Regions from separate parts of the Homo sapiens genome. Here region 2 is linked to region 1. The links are contacts of gene promoters, found by promoter capture Hi-C in human tissues and cell types (Jung and others, 2019). All regions are on one chromosome and are shown on one strand. The core of a region is centred on a gene start or on the middle of the fragment in contact, and the rest is flanking DNA. Distances in the headings are between cores, read along the strand shown.

Region 1 (7,564 bases), core at 1,799-4,298:
TGAGCTGTGACTGCACCACTGCACTCCAGCTTGGGTGACAGAGCAAGACCCTGTCCCAATCAATCAATCAATCAAACAAAAACAAGATCATATCACTTTCCTGCTTAACATTCTTCAGTGGCTAACTAGTGCCCTTAACATAGAATCCAGTATCTTCATGTGGGATCTTACATGGGCTCTAAGGCGTCCCTGCAAGGTCTGGCTCACAGTTCTTCAGCGTCAATTTTTTTTTTTTTTTTTTTGAGACAGAATCTTGCTCTGTCACCCAGGCTGGAGTGCAATGGCACGATCGCGGCTCACTGCAACCTCCGCCTCCCAGGTTCATGCAATTCTCCTGCCTCAGCCTCCCAAGTAGCTGGGATTACAGGCACGCACCACCATGCCCAGCTAATTTTTGTGTTTTTAGTAGAGACGAGGTTTCCCCATGTTGGCCAGGCTGGTCTCGAACTCCTGACCTCAAGTCATTTGCCCGCCTTGGCCTCCCAAAGTGCTGGGATTACAGGCATGAGCCACCGCACCCGGATCTTCAGGGTCATCTTTTATCAGTCCCCTTACCAGTATGCTCTGGCTACACTGAACTCTTTCATGCCCTCCCCCTCTATAAGCCTTCTCACCTCTAGGCCTTTGCATAAGCAGTTCCCTCTTCCAGGAACCCTCTTCACTTGCTTAACCTGCTCTCACCCTTCAGATTTCATCTCAGACATCACTTGCATCAGGAAACCTTCCCTGACTACATCAGAATAGAGTAGGTGCCTCACCTATGTGTTCTCCTCACACTCCATGCTGTCTTTATGTCAGCACTAATCATATTATGTGTTCACTTTTCTGTCTCTCCCATTAGGTAGACCATAAATTCCATGAGAGTATGGACTATGCCTGTCTCTTCATTATTATTTCCCTAGTGCCTGTCACAGGGCCTGGCACATAATAGGTGCTCAAAAAATATTTGTTAAATTAATGTAAGAAAGAATGTTTGATAAATGACCAAATAAACATCTTCATCTCATTGGGGAATCTACGAGAATGAAGAAAATGCCAAAGTTTGATCCTGTTCAAGAAAGTAGCTAATTACTACTACTTTTTTTTGTAGAGATGAAGTCTCACTATGCTGCCTAGGCTGGTTCTGAACTCCTGGCTCAAGCGATCCTCCTGCCTAGGCTGCCCAAAGTGTTGGGATTACAGGTGTGAGCTGTTGCACCCAGCCACCATTTACTTCTTAATTCCACCTGCCAGAGAAAGCACTGGCCTGCAACTCTTTCATTTTTGTTAGTAATCTCATTTGGCTCTGCCCTGGTTTTCCCAATGCCCAGGTCCCACTGTGACAAGCAAAATACCCAACAACCTGTAAAGTAGGCCTGACCAATCTGAGGGCAGTTTACATGAGCAGGAGGTAGGCCCAGGAGAGTTCCTGGGTCCTAAGAGTTAACCCTTTAATCATTGGACAATGGAGGTGGCAAGATCGCTTGAGGCTGGAAATTCAAGACCAGCCTGGCCAACACAGGGAGACCCCATCTCTGTATTAAAAAATGAATAGCACGTGCCTGTAATCCCAGCTAGTCGGGAGGCTGAGGCAGGAGAATCGCTTAGAACCCTGGAGGCGGAGGTTGCAGTGAGCTGAGATTGCGCCACTGCACTCCAGCCTGGCGACAGACCAAGCCTCTGTCTCAAAAATAAATAAATAAATAAATAAATAAATAAATAAATAAATAAATAAATAAAAATAAGGCTCGGCGCAGTGGCTTATGCCTGTAATCCCAGAACCTTGGGAGGCCGAGGCAGGTGGATCACCTGAGGTCAGGAGTTCGAGACCAGCCTGGCCAACATGGTGAAACCCCGTCTCTACTAAAAAATACAAAATTTGCCGGTCGTGGTGGCGGGCACCTGTAATCCCAGCTATTCGGGAGGCTGAGGCAGGAGAATTGCTTGAACCCAGGAGGCGGAGGTTGCAGTGAACCGAGATCATGCCACTGCACTCCAGCCTGGGCGACAGAGCAAGACTCCATCTCAAAAAAAAAAAAAAAAAAAAAAAGAAAAGAAAAAATTAAAACTTTTTTTAGAAAGAAAGAAAACCAGCCTGGCCAACATAGTGAAACCCCGTCTCTACTAAAAATACAAAAATTAGCCAGGAATGGTGGCGCACGCCTGTAGGCCCAGCTACTCAGGAAGCTGAGGCAGGAGAATTGCCTGAACCCGGGAGGTGGAGGCTGTGGTGAGATCGCCCCACTGCACTCTAGCCTGGGCAAGCGAGCAAGACTCCGTCTCAAAAAAAAAAGAAAAAGAAAAGAAAACACTTAATCGCTGCCCTAAAGGATGCCATCTTTGCCCTTAAGGATAATTAGGTTAGAAAGAGAAGCCATACATAGAGAAAAATAGAGGTACCATACAGGTCACCTGCAACAGGTGCTAAAAAAAGGAAAGGGCCACAAACACTCCATGGGTAGTGCAGTTATGTCAGTTTCAGTGCCAGGTGTTGCGTACAGCACGGAAAACATAACCCCTTCCTGTACGTGAGAAAGGCAACGACTGTCCTGGGGAAGACAGGGCAGCGAAGATTCCAGTGCAGGTCTCATTCAGGAAAGGATACATGTGAGCTGGAGTGGCAAAATAAATTTTAACAGAGCTGAAGCTTAAGTTGGGCTTGGTGGGGAGGGACGCATGATAAACTAAGGTGTGGGGAGCCGATTTCAGGCAGTGCGACAAATTTGCAGAAATCTAAGCCCCTCGTGGAAGGTTGCCAAGGTGAGGTGACCTTGAGTGAATGCGTGTAGGTGGAAAAAGGTTCCGGGGAATGCTTGCATCGTTCTGCATCCGAGCGTCCAACAGAGAAAAGATCCTGTTTCCAGACAATACCTGCATTTGGTTTTTCTCCAGCTGAGGGACACCGGTAGGGGGGGGGAGGACAGAAACGAGCAGGGGGTGGGGCCAAGGCGAGTGGGCGGGACCGCGCGGACCCTCCCGCGGCCGACTGGAGGCCCGGAGCAGGGGCGGAGTTTCCGGCGGCAGCGCCACTCGGGCGTCGGGTGACGCTAGGCGGACGGACCATCATGTGACACGGAAGTAGCTCCGAACAGGAAGAGGACGAAAAAAATAACCGTCCGCGACGCCGAGACAAACCGGACCCGCAACCACCATGAACAGCAAAGGCAAGGACCGAGGGTGGCAGAGGCCGTCGGGGGGAGTACTGCTGGCCCAGAGCGAGCGGATTCGGAGCCCAGGGTCACCAAACGCCAGGTTTGGGGTGGGCTGCGCCATGCTCCTTGGCCGGCTGCAGTCCAGGGCGCTGCGCCTGACGCCTTCGTCATACCCAAATTACGGCAGCTTGCTGCCTCCAGGCCCTTTCCTCCGTAAACTCTGTGGCGCAGTTTGGAGCTGCGGGCTCGGGTGGTGGGGGGGCTTGACATGATGGGCATCCGCAGGAGCAAATAGAGCGCTAGCGCAGGCATTCGCGTAGGCCAATGGAGAGCCGGCGGAGGCGGGGCGCCGCGCTCCGGAACCCCCAGCGGGGCCGAACTTAACTACTGAATTGCTGGAGTTGGTTCGTGGGCCGGGGCCTGTGAGGTCTCTTTTCCTTCCCTTCGCACCCCCTCGCCCTTCGCTGACGGGATCAGAACTTCTCCCCTTTTCTGTGGTTGTACCAGTGTGTCTGTCGGAACATGATTCCCATAACGCAGGAATAGGTTGAGGGGGTAAAAAAGGAATAGAAAAAAAAAAAAAAAAAAGGCCGAGCGAGGTTGCTCACGCCTGTAATCCCAGCAGTTTGGGAGGTCGAGGCGGGCGGATCACCTGAGGTCAAGAGTTCGAGACCAGCCTGGCCAACGTGGTGAAACCCCGTCTCTATTAAAAAATACAAAAATCAGCTGGGCGTGGTGGCGGGCGCCTGTAATCCCAGCTACTCGGGAGGCTGGGGTAGGAGAATTGCTTGAACCCAGGAGACGGAGGTTGCAGTGAGCCGAGATCGCGCCACTGCACTCCAGCCTGGGCAAAAGAGCGAGACTCCGTCTCAGAACAAACAAAAAACCAAACCTGATCCCCCGCTTTTCCAGTGAGGATATTCCTCCTCACCCCTCAGCCCTGCACCCTTTTCCCAGTCTCACGGTTCACTTCCATCATTCACACCCTTTGTTTGGAAGTCGACCTTGAATAGTAATCTGTAAGGAAAATCAGAACTGCTGTTACCCACGAAGTCTGGGCTGGTTGTAGACAGGCTGTGGAGACTACCTAGAGCAGAGGCACCCTTGATAAGCCAGAACAGCAGCAGGCCAGAACCCCAGACCTGTCCTGCATTCCGGAGGGAACTTGGGCCCAGGTAGACTTAACCCCTTACTTCGGTATGTTAGTAGGAGCAGTGAGCAGTGCCTTTCTTGTCTCGTTAGAATCCAGCACCTTCCATTTTAAGGGTGCAAAGACAATGCATATTTTCTTAGTTCCAGGAATCAGGCCCTCTGGGGCAGACTATTTGCAAATCCCCTTCTGCTTGCTCCCACTAAGTTAGCTACCCGATATGACCTGCCTCATTTTGGTAGCTCTGTGTAGTAGGCAACCTTCATTTTTTTCTTGTCTTTCAGGTCAATATCCAACACAGCCAACCTACCCTGTGCAGCCTCCTGGGAATCCAGTATACCCTCAGACCTTGCATCTTCCTCAGGCTCCACCCTATACCGATGCTCCACCTGCCTACTCAGAGGTGCTTCCAGTTTGCCAGATTTGAACTAGCTGGGAATACTCTTAGGGTGGTCCTTTAGTCCTTAGCTAAATCTGACTTCACATATTTACTCTTCACAAATGCTAACATGAATAATCTAAAACACTATATAATTTGGCAATTTTTGTCGGAGTTGAAAGTGCATTATTTGATGATTTTGTGTTATTTGGCACAGGCTAAGGTGCAGAAGATGAATTTGCGTTCTGTGAGCCCAACATTAGCTATAGCAGAAAGTGATCCAGGAGAATATTGAAGGCCAGTGGAAAGGCAACTTGTATAATCTTACAAAAAGTATAACCTGCATAAGGAGAATTAAGAATTAGCTCATTAAAGAGATCTCAAATAGGAATGTCATAAAGTAACATTTTGCCTTCTCTTCTGCCTCTTCTAGCTCTATCGTCCGAGCTTTGTGCACCCAGGGGCTGCCACAGTCCCCACCATGTCAGCCGCATTTCCTGGAGCCTCTCTGTATCTTCCCATGGCCCAGTCTGTGGCTGTTGGGCCTTTAGGTTCCACAATCCCCATGGCTTATTATCCAGTCGGTCCCATCTATCCACCTGGCTCCACAGTGCTGGTGGAAGGAGGGTATGATGCAGGTGCCAGATTTGGAGCTGGGGCTACTGCTGGCAACATTCCTGTGAGTATGACCTCATCAGAAGAAACTCAGCCCTTGTGTATTTTAACTTTCTGAAATGACTTCATATTCATTCTCTTACCATTTCTGGATGATAGTTGCCAGTGTTGGTACAACTACTGACATCCAATACTCAGGCAGAAAGTGTTTGAGGGGGCAGAACTGTGGCAAGTGAGTAGCATCTCACTGGGGGCTGAGTTAACCAGATTCTTTTGTTTTCATGTCTGTCGAGTCCTGCTTGCTGCTTTTCCAGTTCATTGTGGTACACTGAACTGGTCTAGTAATGCTCCTTATTCATTCCATAAGCATTTACCATTTACTTAATATTTGCCATCAGCATGGTGTTGCACTAGGAACCCTGATAATTAAAAAAGTAGAATGTATAATCCCTAGTAAGTAGCTTTTAGAAAGATATTAACAATTTTAGTTATCATTTTTTCCTACTTAATTCCCCAGTGCGTGGGATTTAGAGCTCAAATGACTGCTCAGTAACTACATGCTAGAGATGAAGTGAATGTGTCATTAGCGAGCCTTCAGTTTTCCAGTAGTTCATTCAAAAACTGTGTAAGGGCGAAGCACGGTGGCTCACCTGAGGTCAGGAGTTTGAGACCAGGCTGGCCAACATGGTGAAACCCCGACTCTACTATAAATACAAAAATTAGCCGGGCATGGTGGCAGGCGTCTGTAATCCCAGCTACTTGGGAGGCTAAGACAGGAGAATCACTTGAACCTGGGAGGTGGAGGTTGCAGTGAGCTGAGATCCCACCACTGCACTCCAGCCTGGGCGACAAGAGCAAGACTCTATCTCAAAAAAATTAAAAAAAAAAAAAATTAAAAATTAAAAACTATGTAGGGACCATGTGGGATTCATACATGGACTGGCACCCTGTCCCTGTTTTGGGAATGTGAGTAGGACAGTGGTTCTCTACCCTCAAAATGACTGTTGGTCTGGTCTGTTCATGTTCAGAAGGTAGCCATAGGCTTCATCTTAGAGCTGGAACCCTTTGAATGAGTGGTAGGCTCCCTTTCCTGTTTGTATCTTTGGGTTCACATAAAGTATAGACCTACTTTAGAACTCAAATTGGTGGCGGAACTAGCTCCTTAAAACGCAGCTGGTTAGCACATTGCCTCATCCTAACAGGCCTCTGCTTCCCCTATGTCCCCTTCGCTTATATTAGCTGCCCTGTGCCCATTCTATCATGTCATTTCCTTTCAGCCTCCACCTCCTGGATGCCCTCCCAATGCTGCTCAGCTTGCAGTCATGCAGGGAGCCAACGTCCTCGTAACTCAGCGGAAGGGGAACTTCTTCATGGGTGGTTCAGATGGTGGCTACACCATCTGGTGAGGAACCAAGGCCACCTCTGTGCCGGGAAAGACATCACATACCTTCAGCACTTCTCACAATGTAACTGCTTTAGTCATATTAACCTGAAGTTGCAGTTTAGACACATGTTGTTGGGGTGTCTTTCTGGTGCCCAAACTTTCAGGCACTTTTCAAATTTAATAAGGAACCATGTAATGGTAGCAGTACCTCCCTAAAGCATTTTGAGGTAGGGGAGGTATCCATTCATAAAATGAATGTGGGTGAAGCCGCCCTAAGGATTTTCCTTTAATTTCTCTGGAGTAATACTGTACCATACTGGTCTTTGCTTTTAGTAATAAAACATCAAATTAGGTTTGGAGGGAACTTTGATCTTCCTAAGAATTAAAGTTGCCAAATTATTCTGATTGGTCTTTAATCTCCTTTAAGTCTTTGATATATATTACTTGTTATAAATGGAACGCATTAGTTGTCTGCCTTTTCCTTTCCATCCCTTGCCCCACCCATCCCATCTCCAACCCTAGTCTTCCATTTCCTCCCGCCAGTCTCCATTGAATCAATGGTGCAGGACAGAAAGCCAGTCAGACTAATTTCCTTCTTTCCTCGCACTTCTCCCCACTCGTCATCTTTTAACTAGTGTTTCACAAGGATCCTCTGAAACCCTCTCTGTGCCCCAAGTACAGATGCCATTACTTCTGCTTTCGTATCTCCTCAGGCAAAAGTGGAGGGTGCCTTATGGGCCCTCCTCATAGGTTGTCTCTGCATACACGAACCTAACCCAAATTTGCTTTGGTGCCAGAAAAACTGAGCTATGTTTGAACAAAGATGTCGTGCAAACTGTACTGTGAACAACAGTTGGTTTAAAATATGAGGGGCAAGGAGGAGGATGCATTTCAAAAGCTTGATT
Region 2 (7,564 bases), core at 3,793-6,292, 830 kb before region 1:
AGATTCCATTTGCGGCAAAGCAAGGAGGATTTCATGAGATCAGAATGGCAAAGTCTTGAAATCAAGTAACAGTGGTTTGGTGAAAATGAAACCTTCACTTTGGGAAGATTTTTTAAATAATAGAATGGAAAAATCCATTGGAAAAGATCAAGACATGATTATTTCATTTTTATTTATTATTATTATTTTTTAGAGACAGAGTCACACTCTGTCACCCAGGCTTGAGTGCAGTGGCGTGATCTTGGCTCACTGCAACCTCTGCCTCCCAGGTTCTAGCAATTCTCCTGCCTCAGCCTCCCACGTAGCTGGGACTACAGGCACACACTGCCATGCCTGGCTAATTTTTTGTATTTTACTAGAGATGGCATTTCACCATGTTGCCCAGGCTGGTCTTGAACTCCTGAGCTAAGGCAATCCACCCGCCTCGGCCTCCCAAAGTGCTAGAATTACAGGCGTGAGCCACGGTGTCCGGCCAATTTTTATTCGTTACTATTATTATTACTATATTTGAGACAGAGTCTCACTCTGTCACCCAGGCTGGAGTGCAGTGGCGCGATGTTGGCTCACTATTAACTCCACCTCCTGGGTTTAAGCGATTCGCCTGCCTCAGCCTCCCGAGTAGCTGGGATTACAGGTGTGCACCACCACACTTGGCTAATTTTTGTATTTTTAGTAGAGATGGGGTTTTACCATGTTGGCCAGGCTGGTCTTGAACTCCCGACCGCAAGTGATCCGCCCGCCTCAGCTTTCCAAATTGCTGGGATTATAGGCGTGAGCCACCCTTCCCAGCCAAGACATGATTATTTCAAAAGATGAGTGTTTGAACTAGGACATACAAGTGGGAGCGATCTATCCTACTACATATTGCTAAAGACAATAAGGAATTTGGACCATCTAACAAAAATTATAGATAATTTTAAAAATTTTGTTTTTATTGTATTTCGTTTGAATTAATGACAGAACGTCAAAGAAGACACTGTCCAGATTAAGTGTTATTACTGGTATATTAAGCGGTGACATGGGTAATTAATTCAAATGAGCCTGGGGCAAAGTTCTTTAAAGGGAAACCCGACCTCCTAGAGGGCTTCTTCAACTGTAAAATGGGGATGATAATAATAGTGTTTATTGCATAGAATTGTTTTAAGATCAATTAACATAAAATGCTTAGTATAGTGCCAAACACAATGTAAGCATTTAATATACATTAGCTGCTATTAACATATTTGCTAGTATCATAGTTTTTTGTTTTTTTTTTCTTGTCTACTTTTCTTCTGTGAGCCACCACTTTTCGGCAGGGTTGGTTTGTTCAGTACACTTCGCCAAGGTCGGCTTTAAAAATCAAATCTAGATTGTGAACTATGAAAACTGCGGAATTATCAGTGCTGTGTAGCTATCTGACAAGTGATAAAATGTGTCATTACGATTTTTACACATCCCCGTGCCACAGAATGGCGTCTCCTTCTAATCGTTCCCCCCGACAGATGATAGTACATCCCACACTGCTGCTGGAAAAGATAGTGCAAAAGTTGAGCGCGCCGAGGGCTCTCTTTTCTCCCGGAAACAATTTTTCCCTAGACCCGGAAGCAGTTGTTGTTTCAAGGGAGGTGGGACTGGGCGGGTCAGGCCGCAGCGGCTGACGGCAGGGGAGGAGCCGGGTCCACTGCCGGGTGGAGGGGCAAGGCGAGTGTGTGTCCTTATCCTAGCAATTGGGGCGCGGGCCTGTGAGCCAGTTGGAGTTGCGGCGGCGGGAACGATTGGGCTGAGCAGAGGACGACATGTTGCTTTTCGTGGAGGTGAGTGCATTATGCTAGTCTCGTCCTGCTCTTAGGAGAGCAGGAGTGTAGAGGCGCCGGCCGGTCCCACCGCCATGTGACTTTCCGGGCCGTACACGCCGCGGAACCGGCAGATAGGCTGACACAGCACCTGGGCCGAGCAGGCCTGCAGCTTCCCTCTGCGCGCTCACAACACTCTAGGAAGCTATGGGAGGTGAGGCCCGTAGTGGAGAAGAATTGAAGGAGAAAAACGGAGGGCTGTTCTGGTGTGGCGGTGAGGTTCAGAGGAAGGGGAAAGTGTCCCATATGGACCTCCTAAAGGAGGCAGCATTGGGGGGTTGGGGGGCGGAGTCTGAGGGAGGAGAGGGTAATCAGGTGGGCGCGTTCCGGGGGCCGAGCGCGGCCTCGCGGGGCCCCTCTGGGAGGGAGGCGAGCAACATGTGGGGCCACGGATGGAGAAAGGTGAAATGCGGTAAGTATTTTGAAAAGAAAATTGAAAAGTTCTTTTGAGCAACTTCCACCAAATTCTGCCCGGGCCCCGTCCCTAGGTCTCTGGAACGTTCTGTGGGTGAAAGCGAGTTACTTTGAATCGAGGAGAAGCCAGTAGGGTTTGGAAGCCTTGAAAGGCACCGCTTTGACCTTTTGTAAAAGTTACTCAAGCAGCAGCTGCGTGATGAAGGGTTGGTTCTATGAACCGATTAAAAGCCCTTTACAAGGAAAATTCCAAGAATGAGGGAAACTTATTCCGGGAAAAGCCGTTTTTTGTAATGTTATTTGAACAATGAGACACTTTTATTACTTAAACTAGAACGTCTGCTGTTGGCCTATTTTAGTTTTCAAGATAGAGTTGGATACCTGCCTTACAGAAATACGAAATTTAATTTCCCTTAATTCTGTCCTCTTGTGTGCAGTGAGCGTCAGCTGACTGCCTGGCTAATGCTTTGAGTAGATTCCAGATCATATTGTTCTTACATTGTGAAAACGTCAAACCAGCAAAGCTGCAACTTCGCAACTTGGCATTTGTTAACTATGCCCATAAGAAGAATCTTTTCAATGAGGGAAGGAATTTACGGGTTGTATAATGAATCTAGGAGCCGGGGCCAGCCTATGGCAGATTTTTTTTTCCGGGTTGTGGGAAAATCTTACTCCGTAATATTCCAGCATAAAGTAAATAAATGATTTTACGGTTTTTTTTTCTCTTTAAACTAACTGATATTGTGTCGCCGATAAGCTTGATATCTTTAAATTAGTTTTTTAAAAGACTGCTACATTAGAGTGTATCTAACATTCATAATAAACATTCATTGGAACATTCCGGGGAAATCATGAAAAGACTTAAAATTACTGAACTCATTCTGTTTACTGTTTTCTGTCCTCATTGTTGTTTTCCTTAGGCAGAATAAGAAATCAGATAAGATTTTAAGCCAGTGCCAGCCAGTTTTTTTAAGGAATGTTATGCTATGTAAATACCACAGGTTTTAAGTGTGTGTTTTGCTGGGCAGAAGAAAGATTGTGAAGTTTATATTGACAGGAACTCCACAATATACTTTTGACTTCCAAATTGATTCCTTTGGCTTTATTAAAATGTAAGTTTTAATAACAGCTCCATTTATTGTTTAAACTAGGTCTTCTCCTGTCTCTAAAGCGATACTTAATATGTTTTACAGATGACAAAACCGAGCCCCAGAGGTTAAAGTAACTTTACTTAGTAAAAGTAAAGTAGTTTAACTGGGATTTAGATCCAGGTCATGCTGATGTCAAATCATGGACGGGATGTTAGCAATTCAGGCCTGTCCGACTCCCCAGGTTAGACAAATTCTATCGTATCTCTCGCCAAACTAGTGTTTAAAAGTTGTATCTCCATTAATCATTTTCTTTGTGAGTCACTATGTCATTCTTCATTTTCTCATATGAGTTTTATTGAAAATTAACTGTCTTTAAATATTTGGGGCTGAATATGTGGTATTAAAATCAGTGAAAAACAACATGTTGGTCGTTTGGCGTTTTGTTAACTAATATTTGATCCCTGTAACCTCATGATAGAGGAATTATTCTCAGTGAGAGAACCAAAGCTCAGAAGTTAGATGTCTAAGGTCATTCAAGTGTAAATAATGTGGGGGCTAAAGTCTGAAGTCTGACTTCTAGAACATAAATTTCTGGCTTCAAAATTATTTTTGTACTTTCCCATAAGTCAAAGGTTCTTAATCTAGGTTTTTGGATAGAATTGAGGAAGTAAGTACCTAAGCTTGGTTGAGGAAAAAAATTTGCGTGTTTATTTTCTCTAGCTTCTAACTGAAATCTAAATGGAAAAGAAGTGAAAATTCTTTAAATGTTAATGGCAGCAACAGTGTATGTGACCTTGTCACCAAGACAAATCACTTTTTTACATGTATTACAGCTTTTGCAGTTATCTTGAAATATTTATGCTCATTACTTGCTATATGTCAAAAATATTGTTAACGTATTGCTATATTAGACATTTTAAAATATTTTGATAACTGCGTTTCAATATAATTGGTTTACTTTGTGATCCTATATATTTTAGAAATGTAAAAAAACGGAGAAGAGATCCATAGATTAATTGGACTACTAAAGAGGTCTGTGTCACAGAAGAGGTTAAGAACTGCTTTACTAAACCAACTTGCTTGTGGATCATCTTTGGCAGGGTTAATCTGGGATCCCTGGGTCCTCTGCAGTTGTGTTCAATACCTTTTACTTATGTGTATTTTTCTGGAGAGATTCCAGCTTAACTATCCCACTAGAATCAGTAGGATAGATAATAGCAATATAACAATAACAACAGTAGTAGTATATACTTGTATCGTGCTTTGTGTCAGGAACGTTTGATGTTTTTGCATATATAGATATCTGTACATCTTAAGTCTCAATATCTCTATGAGGTGTTAGTATCCCCATTTTAGTGATAAGTAAGGCAGCTGGGCGCAGTGGCTCATGCCTGTAATCCCAGCACTTTGGGAGGCTGAGGTGGGTGGCAAATCACCTGAGGTCAGGAGTTTGAGATCAGCCTGGCCAACATGGTGAAACCCCATCTCTACTAAAAATACAAAAATTAGCCAGAGGTGGTGGCACACACCTGTAATCCTAGCTACTCGGGAGGCTAAGGTAGGAGAATCGCTTGAACCTGGGAGGCAGAGGTTGCAGTGAGCTGAGATGGCACCACTACACTCCAGCCTGGACAACAGAGTGAGACTCTGTCTCAAAAAAAAGAAACTAAGGCACATATAATTTAAACTTGCCTAAGTTTATACAGCTAGTGAACATGGAAGCTTGTATTAGAACTCATCAACCACCTACTTGTATTGGAGTAGAATATATTGCAGACAAGGAATCAATCCTATGTAAATAATACTTAGATGCAACTTTTTAAAACCTGGCCTTGGGCCCAATGTGGTGGCATGTACCTGTAGTCCCAGCTACTAGGGAGGCAGAGGCAGGAGTTTCGCTTGAGTATGGGAGGTCAAGGCTGGAATGAGCCGTGATTGTGCCACTGCATTCCAGGCCGGGTGACAGAGCAAGACCAACTATATTGACTTCAGTAGATTATTGGTTTGTTTTATTTTTTTCCTCTTGAGACCGAGTCTCGCTCTGAGACCGAGGCTAGAGGGTGGCGCAGTCTCAGCTCACTGCAACCTCCGCCTCCTGGGTTCAAGCAGTTTTTTTTTTTTTTTTTTTTTTTTGAGACGGAGTTTCCACTCTTGTTGCCCAGGCTGGAGTGCAGTGGCGCCATCTCGGCTCACTGCAACCTCCACCTCCTGGGTTCAAGTGATTCTCCTGCCTCAGCCTCCCGAGTAGCTGGGACTGTAGGCGCATGCCACCACGCCCAACTAATTTTTGTATTTTTAGTAGAGATGGGGTTTCACCATGTTGGCCAGGATGGTCTCGGTCTCTTGACCTCATGATTCGCCCACCTCGGGCTCCCAAAGTGTTGGAATTACAGGCGTGAGCCACCACACCTGGCGGGTTCAAGCAGTTCTGCCTCAGCCTCCCTAGTAGCTGGGACTTCAGGCATGTGCCACCATGCCTGGCCTTTTTTTTTTTTTTCCTGATTTTTAGTAGACACGGGTTTCACGATGTTGGCCAGGCTGGTCTCGAACTGCTGACCTCAAGTGATCCGCCCGCCTTGGCCTCCTAAAGTGCTGGGATTATAGGCGTGAGCCACCGCGCCTGGCAGATTTTTTTTCCACCTCTGTTCTGAAGGAGAAACAAACAATGTCCCTCTCTGGAAAGAGGTAAAAGTTTGGATGATTCACAAAGTCATCAAACATGACCTGCCATGAATTCTTTTACAACAAATTGTTTGTAAGTTTGAAACTGCAGTGTACTACCTTCATCTGAATGCTATCAAGTTACTTAAAACTTGTGAGCCCTAAGGAGGCAGATAGTAATTTAAAAAAATTTTTTCATTTCTCTCTTTTATTTACAGTTTTTTTTTTAATTTTTAATTTTTTGAGACACAGTCTCGTTTGCTGCAGCCTCCACCTCCCCAGCTCAAGTGATCCTCCCACCTCAGTCTCCAAAGTAGCTGGGACTATAGACATGTACCACCATGCCTGGCTAATTTTTTTCTTTTTTGGTATTTTTTGTAGAGACAGGGTTTTGCTTTTTTGCTCAAGCTGAAATTTTTGTTTAAATAAAAAAAATTAAAACTAGAGACTGGGAAGGGTGGGTATGCAGTGACTACTGAAATTGGGTTTCTGTCTCTGTTTGAGTTTTTCCCTGAAAATGAAGACAGTTGTCCCTCAGTATTTGTGGGAAATTGGTTCCAGGACCCTCTGTAGATGCCAAAAACCTTGGATGCTCAAGTCTTACATAAAAAGGCATAGTATTTGCGTAGCACCTATGCACATCTTTGTGTATATGTTAAATAATCTCTAGATTATTTATAATACCTATTAAAATGTAAATGCTTTATAAATAGTTGCTATACTGTATTATTTATAGAGTGATAAGAAAAAAGTCTCTACATTGTCAGTACAGATGCAATGATTTTTTTTTCTGAGTATTTTTGATTTGTGATTGATTGCTCCACTGATACAGAACCTATGGATATGGAATTCATGGATATGGAGGGCCAACTGTACTTACTTACTTAGGTAGCAGTTAAGTTTCATACGACCTAGGACGCTTTAATAACTCTTAAATAATTAAAACATATTTTAGGTTGGGTAACGTGTCTCATGCCTGTAATCTCAACACTTTGGGAGGCCGAGGTGGGAGGATAGCTTGAGCCCAGTAGTTCAAGACCAGCCTGGGCAACAAAGTTAGACACCCCCCACCCCCACCCCCAACCTCTACAAACAAATTTAAAAAATTAGCCAGGCCTGGTGGCATGTGTTGTGGTCCCAGCTACACTTGAGGTGGGAGGATCACTTGAGCCAGGAGATCGAGGCTGCAGTGAACCATGTTCATGACACTGCACTCCAGCCTGGATGACAGAGTGAGACCCTGCCTCAAAAAATTTTTTTAAATTATTATTTTATTATTTTTTAAGAGACAGGGTCTCACTGTGTTGTCCAGGCTGGAGTACAGTGGCTATTCACAGGTACAGTCATGGCACACCATAGCCTCAAATTCCTGGGCTCAAGCAATCTGGCCTCAGCCTCCTGAGTAGCTGGGACTACAGGCTCATGCCACCAGTTAAAAATATTTTTAATTGTGAAATACATATAACTTAAAAAGTATCATCTAACAGTTTTTTGTTTTTTTGAGAGAGAATCTTGCTCTGTTGCCCAGGCTGGAGTGCAGTTGCATGATCTCGGCTCACTGCAATG

Evidence for each region. The method cuts DNA at HindIII sites, captures the fragments that hold promoters and counts their contacts. A contact is called where the count stands out against the background at its distance.
Region 2: a contact is called between a fragment that was not itself captured here and the fragment with the promoter of DAZAP2 in region 1, in 1 of the 25 tissues and cell types used here (dorsolateral prefrontal cortex).

What each region holds. Positions count from the first base shown.
Region 1 is chr12:51,235,778-51,243,341 of GRCh38, forward strand. DAZAP2 (DAZ associated protein 2) reads left to right here and starts at 3,049. Exons shown (of 4, transcript NM_014764.4): 1 at 3,049-3,143; 2 at 4,566-4,684; 3 at 5,094-5,339; 4 at 6,553-7,564. The coding sequence starts at 3,131. The coding sequence ends at 6,681. RefSeq lists enhancers at 2,099-2,736, 2,828-3,122, 3,046-3,295, 4,012-4,648 and a silencer at 2,846-2,955. The HindIII fragment of the contact is 10,606 bases long and covers 1-5,091 here.
Region 2 is chr12:50,399,236-50,406,799 of GRCh38, forward strand. LARP4 (La ribonucleoprotein 4) reads left to right here and starts at 1,650. Exons shown (of 16, transcript NM_052879.5): 1 at 1,650-1,793. The coding sequence starts at 1,776. The HindIII fragment of the contact is 3,065 bases long and covers 3,511-6,575 here.